Regions from separate parts of the Homo sapiens genome. Here region 1 is linked to region 2. The links are contacts of gene promoters, found by promoter capture Hi-C in human tissues and cell types (Jung and others, 2019). All regions are on one chromosome and are shown on one strand. The core of a region is centred on a gene start or on the middle of the fragment in contact, and the rest is flanking DNA. Distances in the headings are between cores, read along the strand shown. Region 1 overlaps PPM1K-DT (PPM1K divergent transcript). Region 2 holds the start of HERC6 (HECT and RLD domain containing E3 ubiquitin protein ligase family member 6).

Region 1 (7,069 bases), core at 3,118-5,617, 88 kb before region 2:
TTTTTTTTTGAGACAGGGTTTTACTCCTGCCCAGGCTGGAGTGCAGTGGCGCTATCTGAGCTCACTGAAACCTCTGCTTCCCAGGCTCAAGTGATCCTCCCACTTCAGCCTCCCAAGTAGCTGTGACTACAGGCACGCTCAACCATACACAGCTAATGTTTATATTTTTTGTAGAGATGGGGCTTCCCCATGTTGCCCAGGCTGGTCTTGAACTCCTGAACTCAAGCAATCCACCCACCTCAGCCTCCCAAAGTGCTGGGATTACAGGCATGAGCCACTGTACCTGGCGTGGAATTTAAAAAAATAATAATTTTATTGAAACATGTGTCTTAAAAAGTGCACATATCCTAAGTGTAGACAGCTCAATGAATTTTCACAGTCTGCAGACACCTTTGTATCCAGCACCCAGATCAAGGAACAAAACATTATTAATACCTGGGAACCCCATCAACCTGCCTTCCAGGCACTGCCTTCTTCCAAGGGGAGTTTCTATGCTGACTTTCAACAGCATAGGTAGTTTTGCCTATCTTTATACTTGTTATATATAAAGCCATAAAGTATGTGTTCTTTTGTTTCTGGCTACTTGGACTCAACATTACACTTGTGAGATTCTTCCATATTGTTGTATGCAGTTGTAGATCATTCATTTTGTTTTCCATTCTGTGGATATACTGTAATTTATGAATTCATTCTTCTGATGGACATTAGGGCAGTTTGCCATTTAGAGCCATTATAGATAGTGCTACTATGAGCATTCTACTACATATCTGTTGGTGATGGCTTTCATTTGATGGAGTATTTTGGTAGCTAAGTTACTATTAAGTTTTTAAAAATCTGCTCATCAATAATGTAGTATCATGTGTTGCAATATCTCAATCATTTGGATCAAAATTTGGTGCAGATAATGAGGACTTTGCTTTCACAAATGTGAAAAATTTTGGTAACAAGAAAGATGTGGGAAATTTTAAGCTTGGAAGTGTAAAATATTTTGAATTGTCCTGGAGTTTTGACCTTTTTTATAACCACTTGCATGCCCAGCATCTGAGAACATCATGACTTTGCTAAATCCTTGTACCAAAACAGACTGGAATCCAGAGTCACATGATAAGCAAAGCCACTTAGGCTGTTCTGAAGAATATCTTTGATACTAAAACAGTCCTTGAAATTGCCTTTGAAAATCACACCATTTCACACTCTACCACAGCTCATTAAAATTAAAGCCAGCAGTTTACTTCTTTTGAATTATATGCTTCTGGGTTTTGAATCTCTGAAGCATAGCTAAATACACCACAAAAATAATTCATGGCCAGCACAGTGGTTCATGCCTGTAATCCCAGCACTTTGAGAGGCCAAGGCTGCCAATCACTTGAGCTGGGAGTTCAAGACTAGCCTGAGCAACATGTCAAAACCATGGTCTCTACAAAAAAATACAAAAATGAGCCAGGCATGGTGGCGCATACCTGTGATCCCAGCTACTCGGGAGGCTGAGGTGGGAGGATCACCTGAGCCCAGGAGGTCCAGGCTGCAGTGAACCATGATCTCACCACTGTACTCTAGCCTAGGTGACAGCACTTTGGGAGGCCGAGGCGGGTGGATCACAAGGTTAGGAGATCAAGACCATCCTGGCTAACACGGTGAAACCCCGTCTCCACTAAAAATACAAAAAATTAGCCGGCGTGGTGGCGGGCGCCTGTAGTCCCAGCTACTTGGGAGGCTGAGGCAGGAGAATGGCGTGAACCCGGGAGGCGGAGCTTGCAGTGAGCCGAGATCGCGCCACTGCACTCCAGCCTGGGCGACAGAGCAAGACTCCGTCTCAAAAAAATAAAATAAAATGCACAATTATTGGTACACCAAACCCCCATGAAATGCAGTTTATCTGTATAAGAAACCTGTTCATGTACCCCAGAACCTAAAATAAAAGCTTTTAAAATGTGAATAATGTGTAAAGGAAATCATTATTTGGTATTTGACAAAAAATTAAAAAATGGAAAAGAATTCACCACAGAGGCTGACTTGGCATGACAGATCACTGCACAATGTACAAAATAATCAAGGGGATATGGCACTCCGTACATTCATTAAGTTGAGCTACTTCTTTATTCAGTTTATATTTTATTTTATTTACTTATTTTTTTTTAGAGACAGGGTCTCCCTGTGTTTCCCAGGCTGGATTGCAGGGACTATTCACAAATGTGATAATAGTGCACTATAGCCTTGAATTCCTGGGCTCAAATGATTCTCCCGCCTCACTGGAGTAGCTAGGACTACAGGCATGCACCATTGTGCCCAGCTCAGTTTATATTTTAAAGAATTGGACCATCTGCTGAAAACCACTGGCTATCAGAAAATTACACCCAAAACAATTCACAGGGCTTTGGGTGGGTGGGTGGTATGTATAATTGCAGAATTATTAATATTCACTAATGAATCATTTGTTGTTAAAATTAGATATGGACATTTTTGTATACTCAGAATCAGCAGTTTTCTAGAAAAGTATCTGTAGGCTACTCTTGGCCTCATGCCTAAAACATGGGCCTGGGATACTAGGATGTATTTTTTCCACAGTTCAGGCTGCTCTGTCCTGAATTGCTAGCCCAGATGTCCCTTCTCTGTGTTACCAAGATAATTGCCAAAACACTGACATAGAGAATTTTTAGGTCTGTTGCAGTGGCTCATCCCTGTAATCCCACCACTTTTGGAGGCCAAGGCAGGAAGACAGCTTGAGGCCAGGAATTCGAGACCAGCCTGGGCAAGATAGTGAGACCCCTGTTCTACAAAAAAAAAAAAAAAGATTAGCCAGACATGGTGATGTATGCCTGTAGTCCCAACTACTTGAGAGGCTGAGGTGGAAGGATTACTTGATCCCAGGCGTTTGGGGTTGCAGTGAGCTATGAACATGCCACTGCACTCCAGCCTGGGCAACAAAGCAAGACCTTGTCTCTTTAAAAAAAAAAAAGAAAAGAAAAGAGAGAGAGAGAATTTGAAATCTTGTCCTTGGATGCAATTAAACTTGCAGCAATGATTTTATTTTAAAATATGATTGTTGCTTCCCCCACCCTGTATAATTTACCTCTAAAAATTTGGAATAAATAAGCTTCAGGCCAGGCGCAGTGGCTCATGTCTGTAATCCCAGCACTCTGGGAGGCCGAGAAGGGTGGATCATTTGAGGTCAGGAGTTCGAGACCAGCCTGACCAACATGGCAAAATGCCGTCTCTACTAAAAATACAAAAATTAGCTGGGTGTGGTGGCGTGCACCTGTAATCCCAGCTACTCGGGAGGATGAGGCAGGAGAATCACTTGAACCTGGGAGGCAGAGGTTGCAGCGAGCCAAGATCATGCCACTGCGCTCCAGCCTGAACAAAAGAGCAAGATTCTGCCTCAAAAAAAAAAAAAAAAAACTTCGACCAGTACCAATGCTACAGAGATTTGAAATGTCTTTCCATTTCCACCTCCGATTATTTGACTATTATTCATTCTATTTGACCCTTATTCAAGCCTTTAATTGCATGTTTCCCATCAGAGCTGTTGTGAGAACAATCATATTTTGTAAATGTATTTTGTAAGAAAGGTTATACAAAATTGTGTTTTATTTAAATCACAAAATGCTCAAAATCAAGGAAGCGAAATATGATAGTCATTATTAGCATTGTTTGCTAAATGTTTACTGTTCTTCATCACCCAAGCCAGTAGTGCCAGGCGAAGGCAGGCATCTGTGACTTGTCCTGGTCAATGAATTGTGAGTGGAGGTGATGGGGTAATTTTTGAGTGAGCATTTCGTATCCCTGTGCAAGACCCTCCAAGGTTCACTCACCTCTGCCATTGCAACCAGCAATGTTCCAGAGAATGGCTGCTCCCTGAATGACTCCAAGGAAGAGAATTCCACTGCAAGCCTATGATAGCCATGGAACATGAACAAGAAACAAACCTTTGATGTAGTTTGTTACTGGATCTTAACCTAACTTCATGTATCCTATCTCAACTGATAGAAATATTAACCCTAACTTAAAATTAACTTAAAATTATTTACTTGAATTGTTCTTGGGGTAATTTTAGCCTAAGGGAAATTTTCATACATTTATTCAATAAATATTCATGAAGATCATACTATCTATCAGAAACTATGTTAGGCTGTGGACTCATGGCAATAAATGAACAATATAAACCTGGTCTCTGCTTTCATGAAAATTGGAAGGAAAATTTGAAGGTAGGCAACTATGTATGATGAATGCTACAAGTGAAAAAGTATAGTGTTATTCAGTGTGGTTGAATATTATACAAAGCTACCAAGAAACAATGGAGAAAGAGAAAACAAGTTTCTAATTCAAGAAGTATCTTGAAAAGATAGAAAACATTCCTTATATTTGAATCCGAAGCCCTTCAGGGCTAACATTGCTTTTGACCCATGTGGGTCCTCAAGCAAATACCCAATTTCCTGTGCCTCTGTTTCATTATCTGTAAAACAGCACTAAATATAACCTGCCCTGGCTAACCTATATAATCACTTCCAGAAATCAATTAGGTAGAGAACATAAGTGTCCCATAAAAATAAGCAGTGTTATTATTCTTTGAAGCTTTTACAGTGCATTGAAGAAGCCTATAAATATGTAGTTTAAAAAATTGAAAACCCTATAAAGCAACATACAAACACATTTAAATTAATGTTGTATCTTTCTAGCTGTGGGAAATGGTGCATAATAACACAGTGAAAATTATACCTTGGATAATCTAAAAGTCAATGTTTATTGCCAAGTAATATCTGCTAATGCGCTATTAGAATATGGCTGAAACAGGCCAAAAATTCCCTTGTAATCCCTATAAAGAATATTCAATAAATATTTTTCTTGTCAGTGGAATGAAGTGAATGTATAAATAATTAGTTTTGTCCAAGCTGAACAACAGAAAAATGCACGCAGTATTAAGAGAAACTGCCTTTGTCTTTGAAATCTGTAACACTGGAAGTGTGTATGCTTATATCCTATTGGAAATGATGTCCAGTTTTCTAAACTCATCGCTCTCTTCTGAGTCTCCTTTATATTAGAGTTTGGAATATCAAGGTAACATTGTAAGAGATGATGAAAAGCCTGTTTGTCACTGGTTGTCAAGCAACCAAATGCACGTACAAACACACCGCCTTATTTTGTACCGAGTGGGTGTAGGTGCTGAACTGCTTTTCTATTGGTCAGTTTCTCTTCCAATGGCAGAAAAGAAAGTATTATTTTTCCAGCTAATTGACATACTCTGGGAAAGGAACCAGCTATGTTTCTTTCCCTAGCAGTGTTAGATATAGACTTTAAACCAGGGCCAGTTTTATAAGTTATTGTGGCTTTGGGCAATCTAGATTTTATATGCAAAAATACTCCAGAAAAAGTTTAAAAATTCAAATTTTGTGCTATGAGAAATGTGCAAGAGAGATCTGTTTTCTTGAATATACTTTAATTAATATAAGGAAATAAGAATCCACAGTCATTCTGCCACAGTGAAACCAGGAAAGACCTTACCCAGGTCACAAATGACAGCAAAAATGATGTTTCCTAACCCCACCCTGTCTTCTCATAGACCATACGAAGTGATAGGAAGCTGGAATCTGGGAAGAAGGAGAATTACAGCAAAGGAAAAACGGGAAGGGGACCAAGAGAGGGACAGCAGGCTGCCCACATGAGGGACCTCTGTATGGCCTGAAATGTATTTCAATGTAAAGAGTAAAGGAAAAGATGCTCATTGCTCTTCCAGTAACAAACTGGATACCCCTGTATAATGCAAGGCTGTACTATTTTCTACCTGTTCTCTCTTTCCCTAGTTTCTCCCTCCTCCTAACGAATCCAACACCTTTTGATACTCTTTTCATCTTATGACATTATTTCACAAAGTTTCACTAGCTCCCCATTTCCAGTAGGGGAAAAAAAAATCCTAAACTTCTGAGGCTGGTATTCAAACTCTTCCATGGGCTGTTCCTGCCATGGAGCAGGTAGAATTCCTGCTTCTTTGGGTGACTTAAGTCTTTTTCTCTTAGGGACTTCAACTGATTGGTTGAGGGCTACCCCCATATGGAGGATAATCTTCCAGATGAGGTCTACTGATTTAAATATTAGTCCCATCTGAAAATACCTTCACAGCTAGACTGGCATTGGACAAAATATTAGAGAACCTCGGCCTAGCCAAATTGGCAAATAAAATTAACCATGACACTAACCCTTACAAATGCTTCCTCTGTCTAGGCACTGTTCTAAATGTTCTACATGTATCAACTCACTTAATCCTTACATTAGCCCTAAGAGAAGGGCCAGTGTTGTTATTGTCATCCCCATTTTACAGATGAGGCACAGAGAGAGAGGTTAAGTAACTTGCCTGAGGTCACACAGCTTGTAAATGATGGAGCCAGGATATGAATCCTTGCAGTTTGGCTCCACAGTTTATATTCCTAACTACTGTGCTATTTACCTCTCAAAAATAGAAAATGAAAGCTGAACTGATTGATAGTTTATATGTTCTTCCTATAAATGTCTTTGTTTGCCCACCATTAACCTCTATTCAATGTCAGTTTTTACAGAAACCTTACATATATCCACGCAATAGCCCTTTGATATAGATAGTACTATCCCAATGTTACAGATGAGGAAATTTTGAGGCACAAAGTTAATGACGTGCCTTAGGCCATACAGTGGAACAGCAGGGATTTTCACCTAGGCCCCTTAGTCTCCAAGGTATATCGTCTTACTACATTTCCTCTCTGTACATAGTTCAGCGAGGTTAAACATTTTAAGGATGTTCTGGGCCAGGCGTGGTGGCTCAGTTCTGCAATCCAAGTGCTTTGGGAGGCGGCTGAGGCAGTAGGATCACTTGAGCCCAGAACTTAGAGTGTAGGGAGCTATGGTCGCACCACTGCACTCCAACCTGAGTGGCAGAGTGAGACTCCCATCTCTTAAAAAAACAAACAAAAAAAAGATGTTCTGAATAATCTCTGTTTAAAACACATTAATTACTTTAACAAAAGTCAGATTTCTGTTTTGATACATTCCACAAATGAAATACACTGTACATAAAGGATAAGTTTCTGACCATTTCTAGTAC
Region 2 (7,246 bases), core at 2,713-5,212:
TTAATAACCATATTATTATAAGAAGCTCAGATAACTGAACAGCAAAAAAAAAAATCTGATTTTAAAAGGGCAAATGATCTGAATGGACATTTCTCAAAAGCAGACATACAAATGGCCAACAAGTATAAGAAAAAATGCTCAACATCACTAATCTTCATAGAAATGCAAATCAAAACCATGAGATATCATCTCACCACAGCTAGAATGGCTTTTACCAAAAGATAGGGAATAAGGAATGCAGGTGAGGATGTAAAGAAACGTACACTGTTGATGTACATTTCATACATTGTTGGTGGGAATGTAAATTAGTACAGCCACTATGGAGAACAGTATGGAGGTTCCTCAAAAAACTAAAAATAGAAATACCATATGATTCAGCAATTTCACTACTCTGTGTATATACAAAAGAAAGGAAATCAATATATCAAAGAGACATCTGCACTCCCACATTTACTGCAGTACTATTCACAATAGCCCAAATTTGGAATCAGGCTAAGTGCCCATCAATAGATGAATGGATAAAGAAAATGTGGTACATATACATAATGAAATATTGTTCAGCCATAAAAAAAGAATGGAATTCTGTCATTTCTGCAGCAACATGGGTGGAATGGTCATTATGTTAATGAAATAAGCCAAGCACAGAAAGACAATTATCACGTGTTTTCACTCATATGTCAGAGAGTAAAAAAAAAAAAAGTGAATCTCATGAAGATAAGGAGTACATTGTTGGTAACCAGAGTCCAGGAAGAGTAGGGGTAGGGGTGAGGAAAATGAAGAGAGGTTGATTAATGGGTACAAATATACAGTTGGATAGAAGAAATAAGACCTGGTTCAATAGCTCAGTAGAATGACTATAGGTACATTTCAAAACCACTAGCCAATAATAATTTGAATGTTCCTTTTTTTTTTTTTTTTTTTTTTGAGATAGGGTCTGGCTCTGTCGCCCAGGCTGGAGTGCAGTGGCACGATCTGGGCTCACTGCACCTTCCACCTCCCAGGCTCCGGGCTCAAGCAATCCTCCCACCTCAGCCTCCCACGTAGCTGGGACTACAGGTATGTGCCACTGCACCCAGCTATTTTTTGTAAAGATGGGGTTTCACCATGTTGCCCAGGCTGGTCTCCAACTCCTGAGCTCAAGCGATCCTCCCATCTCGGCCTCCTAAAGTGCTAGGATTATAGGCATGAGCCACTGTGCCTAGCCCAAGATAAATTATTTAAGGCGATAGATATCCCAATTTGATAATGTGTCAAATTATCATATGTACCCCCAAAACATGTGCATCTATTATGTATCAATAAAAGATTTTTTAGGCCAAGAGTGGTGGCTCACGCCTGTAATCCCAGCACTTTGGGAGGCTGAGGCAGGCGGATCACTTGAGGTTAGAAGTTCGAGATCAGCCTGGCCAACATGGTGAAACCCTATCTCTACGAAAAATACAAAAATTAGCCAGGTGTGATAGTGCCCGCCTGTAATCTGAGCTGTTCAGGAGGCTGAGGCAGGAGAATCGCTTGAATCGGGGAGGTGGAGGTTGCAGTGAGCTGAGATCGTGCCACTACACTCCAGCCTGGGTGGCAAAGCGAGACTCTGTCTCAAAAAAAAATTTTTTTTTAAAGAAATAACTTAATTTGAGGGCTCAGTATCTTATGGTAATAATACCAAACTCCTACATTTTGTGCTTGAGAAAAGAAATAAACATTAAGAAATTACTATTCAGAAAAAGGTTATATTTGGTATACAGCAAAACAGAACCAGAAATACTAATACTATCCACTGACTCACTACTCATCAATCCAATTGTCCGACATACCCTTATTAGCATCTACCAAGTTCCAGGTACTCTTGAGGTAGAAAAATAAAGAACATTTGTTCTTCTCTTTAAAGAACTTGAAACATGGTCATGAAGAGTGGTGAATTGAAATTACATAAATAGGTTCTGTAATAGTTTCTTTTAAAAAAAAATCAATAATGCTGATGATGGCTAACATTATCAAAGTTACCAAATCTAAAAACCAGTGCTCAGCGGGACATGGTGGCCTATAATCACAGCACTTTGGAAGGCTGAGGTAGGCAGATCATCTGAGGTCAGGAGTTCAAGACCAGCCTGGGCAACATGATGAAACCCCATCTCTTCAAAAAATACAAAAGTTAGCTGGGCGTAGTGGCACGTGCCTGTAGTCCCGCTACTTGGGAGGCTAAGGCGGGAGGATTGCTTGAACCTGGGAGGCGGAGGTTGCTGTGAGTTGAGATCACGCCATTGCACTCCAGCCTGGGCATCAAGAGCGGAAACTCTATCTCAAACAAACAAACAAATAAATAAATAAAAATCAGTGCTCAATCCTTACCTTGCTCCACAAGAAATTGACAGAGTTGATCCTTCCTTTATTCGTTACTTGCTCTGTCTATAACTCCTCCTCCTGGTTTTCCTCCTATGATCAGTCCTCTAGCCTCTGCTATACTGTCACCACATTCACCCCCTGGGTGTTCTCATTCAGCCATCTGGCTTTAAGCATCACCTCTACACTGATGGCTCCCAATTTTCTGACTACACCCAAGCTTCTCTCTACAACTCCAAAACAGTTTATCCTATTGCCTTCTTGATTAACAAGCATCTTACAGTTATCATTACCAATCTGTATTCCAGACACACATAGCTTAAACCTGCACCTTCCTCAGGGTTTCCCAGTCCAGTAGAGTTTACCTTGGAGTAACCCCTAAAGCCAACCCTGGAGTAATCCCTAATCCCTTTTCTTCTTTCCCCCCAATTTCTAATCCATCATCAAATCTGTGGACTCTTACTTTCAAAACATGTCTTGAATCTAATAACTTCTCCTCTCTTCCCTTCTAGGATATCACCTGACCTGAACTCTGAAGTAGTCTCTGCTAACTGGCTTTCTGCTTCCATTTTTGTCCTATTATTTTTCACACAGCAGCCAGATGAATCTTTAAAAACTGAAGTCAGATCATGGCTCTTCTCTATTCAAAACCTTCCAACTGCTTCTTTTCATCCTCTGCCCTCAGGTGTGATCACGACTCATTCCCTCATTTCCCATGTCCCCTCAGCTCTCTGCACAAATATCACTTCATCAGAGAGATCTTCCCTAATATCATCTCAAATACCAGTGCCTTCCGCCTCCACCCTCTGGTTCCTGTTGTATTTTTCGTTGCCCCTTGATATTACACTATGTGTTTATCTGTTTATGTTCTCTTTCCCTCAGGAGAATGTAAACGCATCAAGAGGATCTTGTCTTTCACTAATTGTATTTTCAGGCGGGGCCCAGAGGCTCACGCCTGTAATCCCTGCACTTTGGAAAGCTGAGGGGTGGATCACTTGAGGTCAGGAGTTCGAGACCAGCCTGGCCAACATGGTGAAACCCCATCTTTACTAAAAATACAAAAATTAAGTCGGGCGTCGTGGCGCATGCCTGTAATCCCACCTACTCGGGAGGCCGAGGCAAGAGAATCAGCTTGAACCCGTGAGGTGGAGGTTGCAGTGAGCCGAGATGGTGCCACTGCACTCCAGCCTGAGCAGCAGAGCGACACTCCATCTCAAACAAACAAACAAACAAACAAACAAAAAACAAACATATTTTCAATGCCAAAAAAGGTCTGGAATGAGGTGGGCACTCAGATGCTTTATTAACCACTCTAGGTATTATTCTAACACTTTATGTGCCTATTAAATTATCCCGACATATTAGATTTGCTGAATTGCAGTCCATATTTCGTAGATATGATAGCTGAAGCACGGAATCATTAGGTAACTTGCCCAAAGTGGCATTCACGACTCATAAATGGCTTAGGATGTAAACTCAGTTTTATTCCCTGGGACGCCCTCTCTGCTCTTCAGCACTTGAAGTTCAGGCAGCGAGAGTTGACATGGGGCCAGGGCTGCGCCCCTGGGGCGGGTTGAAGACAGGGTGAGTCTCTTGATATTCAGGAAATCATCGCGCACCCAGTCACCAGCGTTCGGGAGCCTGTCGCAGCGGGACCGACGGAATCCGGAGCAGGCGACAGGGCGCAGAAGCGGGATGTACTTCTGTTGGGGCGCCGACTCCAGGGAGCTGCAGCGCCGGAGGACGGCGGGCAGCCCCGGGGCTGAGCTACTGCAGGCGGCCAGCGGGGAGCGCCACTCTCTGCTGCTGCTGACCAACCACAGGGTCCTCTCGTGCGGAGACAACAGCAGGGGTCAGCTGGGCCGCAGGGGCGCGCAGCGCGGGGAGCTGCCAGGTGAGCGGGGGGCCCCAGGTGCAGGGTGTGAGGACCCCAGTACATGGGCGCGGGGGCTTGGGTACCGGGCGCAGGGAACCGGGTGCGGAGCGCTGGGACCCGGGTGAGGGGCGCGGGGGCCCAGGTGCAGGGAGCGGCTCAGATGCTGGGCGCCGCGGGCCAGGCAGGGAGGGGTGCTGGGAGCCTTGGATTCCTCGGGGCCCGAAGAGCCACAGGAACCAGGAAAATGGTGCCCTGTGCTACCGAAGAGCAACTTCCTCAGTTTCGTTTTCCCAACGCCCCTCGGATTTGTTTCGGTTTCCAATTCAAGTTCAAAGCGAAACTGAGAGCCGAAACTAACCTGGTCAGCGCTGCTCTGGAAAGAGATGTGGTCCCTCCGGCTTGCCTTGCAGATAAATCCTCGCCTGCGCGGTTCTACCTGGAGAAGGCAGCCTGACCTTACAAACGTGGTTTGTGGGTCAGACACCTGTATCTCCCTTAGAAATACACTGGGGCATTAAAAAATATATATATATAAAAATATATATATAAAATATATAAATATATATAATATATAAATATATACAAATATATAATATATAAATATATAATATATAAATATATATAATATATAAATATATAAATATATAACATATAAATATATATAATATATAAATATATATATAACATATAAATATATATAATATATAAATATATATATAACATATAAATATATATAATATATAAATATATATATAGCATATAAATATATATAATATATAAATATATATATAATATATAAATATATATAATATATAAATATATATAATATATAAATATATATATAATATATAAATATATATAATATATAAATATATATAATATATAAATATATATATAATATATAAATATATATAATATATAAATATATATAATATATAAATATATATATAATATATAAATATATATAATATATAAATATATATAATATATAAATATATATATAATATATAAATATATATAATATATAAATATATATAATATATAAATATATATAATATATAAATATATATATAATATATAAATATATATATAATATAAATATATATATAATATATAAATATATAATATATAAATATATATAATATATAAATATATAATATATAAATATATATAATATATAAATATATAATATATAAATATATATATAATATATAAATATATATATAATATATAAATATATATATAATATAAATATATATATAATATATAAATATATATATATAATATATAAATATATATATATAATATATAAATATATATATATACACATAATAGGCCGGACGCGGTGGCTTACGCCTGTGATCCCAGCACTTTGGGAGGCCGAGGCGGGCGGAGCACGAGGTCAGGAAATCGAGACCACCCTGGCCAATATGATGAAACCCCATCTCTACTAAAATACAAAAAATAAACTGGGCGTGGTGGCGGGCGCCTGTAGTCCCAGCTACTTGGGAGGCTGAGGCAGGGGAATCGCTTGAACCCGGGAGGCAGAGGTTGCAGTGAGCCGAAATCGCGACACTGCACTCCAGCCTGGCAACAGAGCAAGACTCTGTCTCAAAAAACATAATAATAATAAATATATATATTATATATGTGAGATAATACAATAATCGTTATGGATTATTGTAGAAATACGAGAAAGCAATCACCGTAGCTCCAACACCCAAAGATAACTCCTAACATTTTGATGCATTTTCTCCTTGTCTACTTTTTTCTATGTACATATTTAATCTTTATAAAAATCATGTCATTATAGATTTGTATATGCAGTATTTATGCAACTCTGTACATTGTGTTTTCATCAAGCATAATCTTATGAACATATTACCCTTTCATTTTGTATGTTTTGAAAATATGTTTTAAATTGCTGCATAACATTCTAAACTCTGAGAGTACCATAATTATTCTCTTTTTGTGGAAATTAGATTGTTTCCCACTAGGGGCTTTTATAAATAATACTGATTGATATTCTCGTAAGCAAATATTTGACTACATTTTTGATGACCTGCTGAGAATAGTTTCAAAAGGTGTGTGGAGGAGGAAAATTTTTCCTCTACCCTCTTAGGTTCAGCGGCTGGGTCCTGCAAACTTAACTGACAAAAGACAGATTGACAGGAGAAAAAGCATACAATTTTATTAATCTTTTACATATAGGGGAATTTACATGCGTGGGAATTTACAGAATAGAAGTGAAACTCAAGTGCTTCGACTTAGGAGCTTGTGTACCATGTTTAACAAAGAAAAGGGGGTTTGGACTTTAAAGGATGATGAACTCAGGGAAAGTGACTAGAAAATATATGGGAAAATCTAATGGAAGATAAGGGTTATTTTAATTGACTTGTTTATGCAGGCTCACCTCAGTGCCAAGTCTTCATCTTAGGTGACCCTTCTCTTCTTTTTTTTTTTTTTTTTTTTTTGAGATGGGGTTTTGCCCTGTCACCAGGCTGTAGTGCAATGGCACTATCTCGGCTCACTGCAACCTCCGCCTCCCCAGTTCAAACGGTTCTTCTGCCTCAGCCTCCCAAGTAGCAGGGATTACAGGCACTCACCACCATGCCCAGCTAATTTTTATATTTTTAGTAGAGACGGGGTTTCACTATGTTGGTCAGGCTGGTCTCAAACTCCTGACCTCGTGATCCACCCGCCTCGGCCTCCCAAAGTGCTGGGATTACAGTTATGAGCCACTGCGCCCGGCTGACCCTTTTCTTGGTGCCAGAGATGGGAGCTTCTCACAAAAGGATATTTATGACCTACTTTTAGGTAGATAAGAAGAGAGCAGAGACCTCTTCCTGCATCTGTTGATTCTCAATTGCCTTCAGCTCAAATTCTTAAAGTAGCATGTTTTCAGGTCTTATCACCCTCATTTGGAAATGAAGGGCAACATGATACTTAACCCCAAATTGTTCTCTAGAAAAATGGTACCAATTTCTATCTTTGTGAGTGCATGAATCTTTGGGAAATTTTAACCTTGCATAA

The links. The method cuts DNA at HindIII sites, captures the fragments that hold promoters and counts their contacts. A contact is called where the count stands out against the background at its distance.
Region 1: a contact is called between a fragment that was not itself captured here and the fragment with the promoter of HERC6 in region 2, in 12 of the 25 tissues and cell types used here (H1 embryonic stem cells, adrenal gland, aorta and 9 more).

What each region holds. Positions count from the first base shown.
Region 1 is chr4:88,286,020-88,293,088 of GRCh38, forward strand. The region is part of intron 1 of PPM1K-DT (PPM1K divergent transcript); the gene reads left to right. Among named protein-coding and RNA genes, the nearest start is that of PPM1K-DT, 4.6 kb to the left of the region's middle. The HindIII fragment of the contact is 5,845 bases long and covers 1,446-7,069 here.
Region 2 is chr4:88,374,890-88,382,135 of GRCh38, forward strand. It overlaps HERC6 (HECT and RLD domain containing E3 ubiquitin protein ligase family member 6), which reads left to right and starts at 3,963. Exons shown (of 23, transcript NM_017912.4): 1 at 3,963-4,231. The coding sequence starts at 4,033. RefSeq lists a silencer at 4,186-4,375 and an enhancer at 4,386-4,715. The HindIII fragment of the contact is 12,273 bases long and covers 1,234-7,246 here.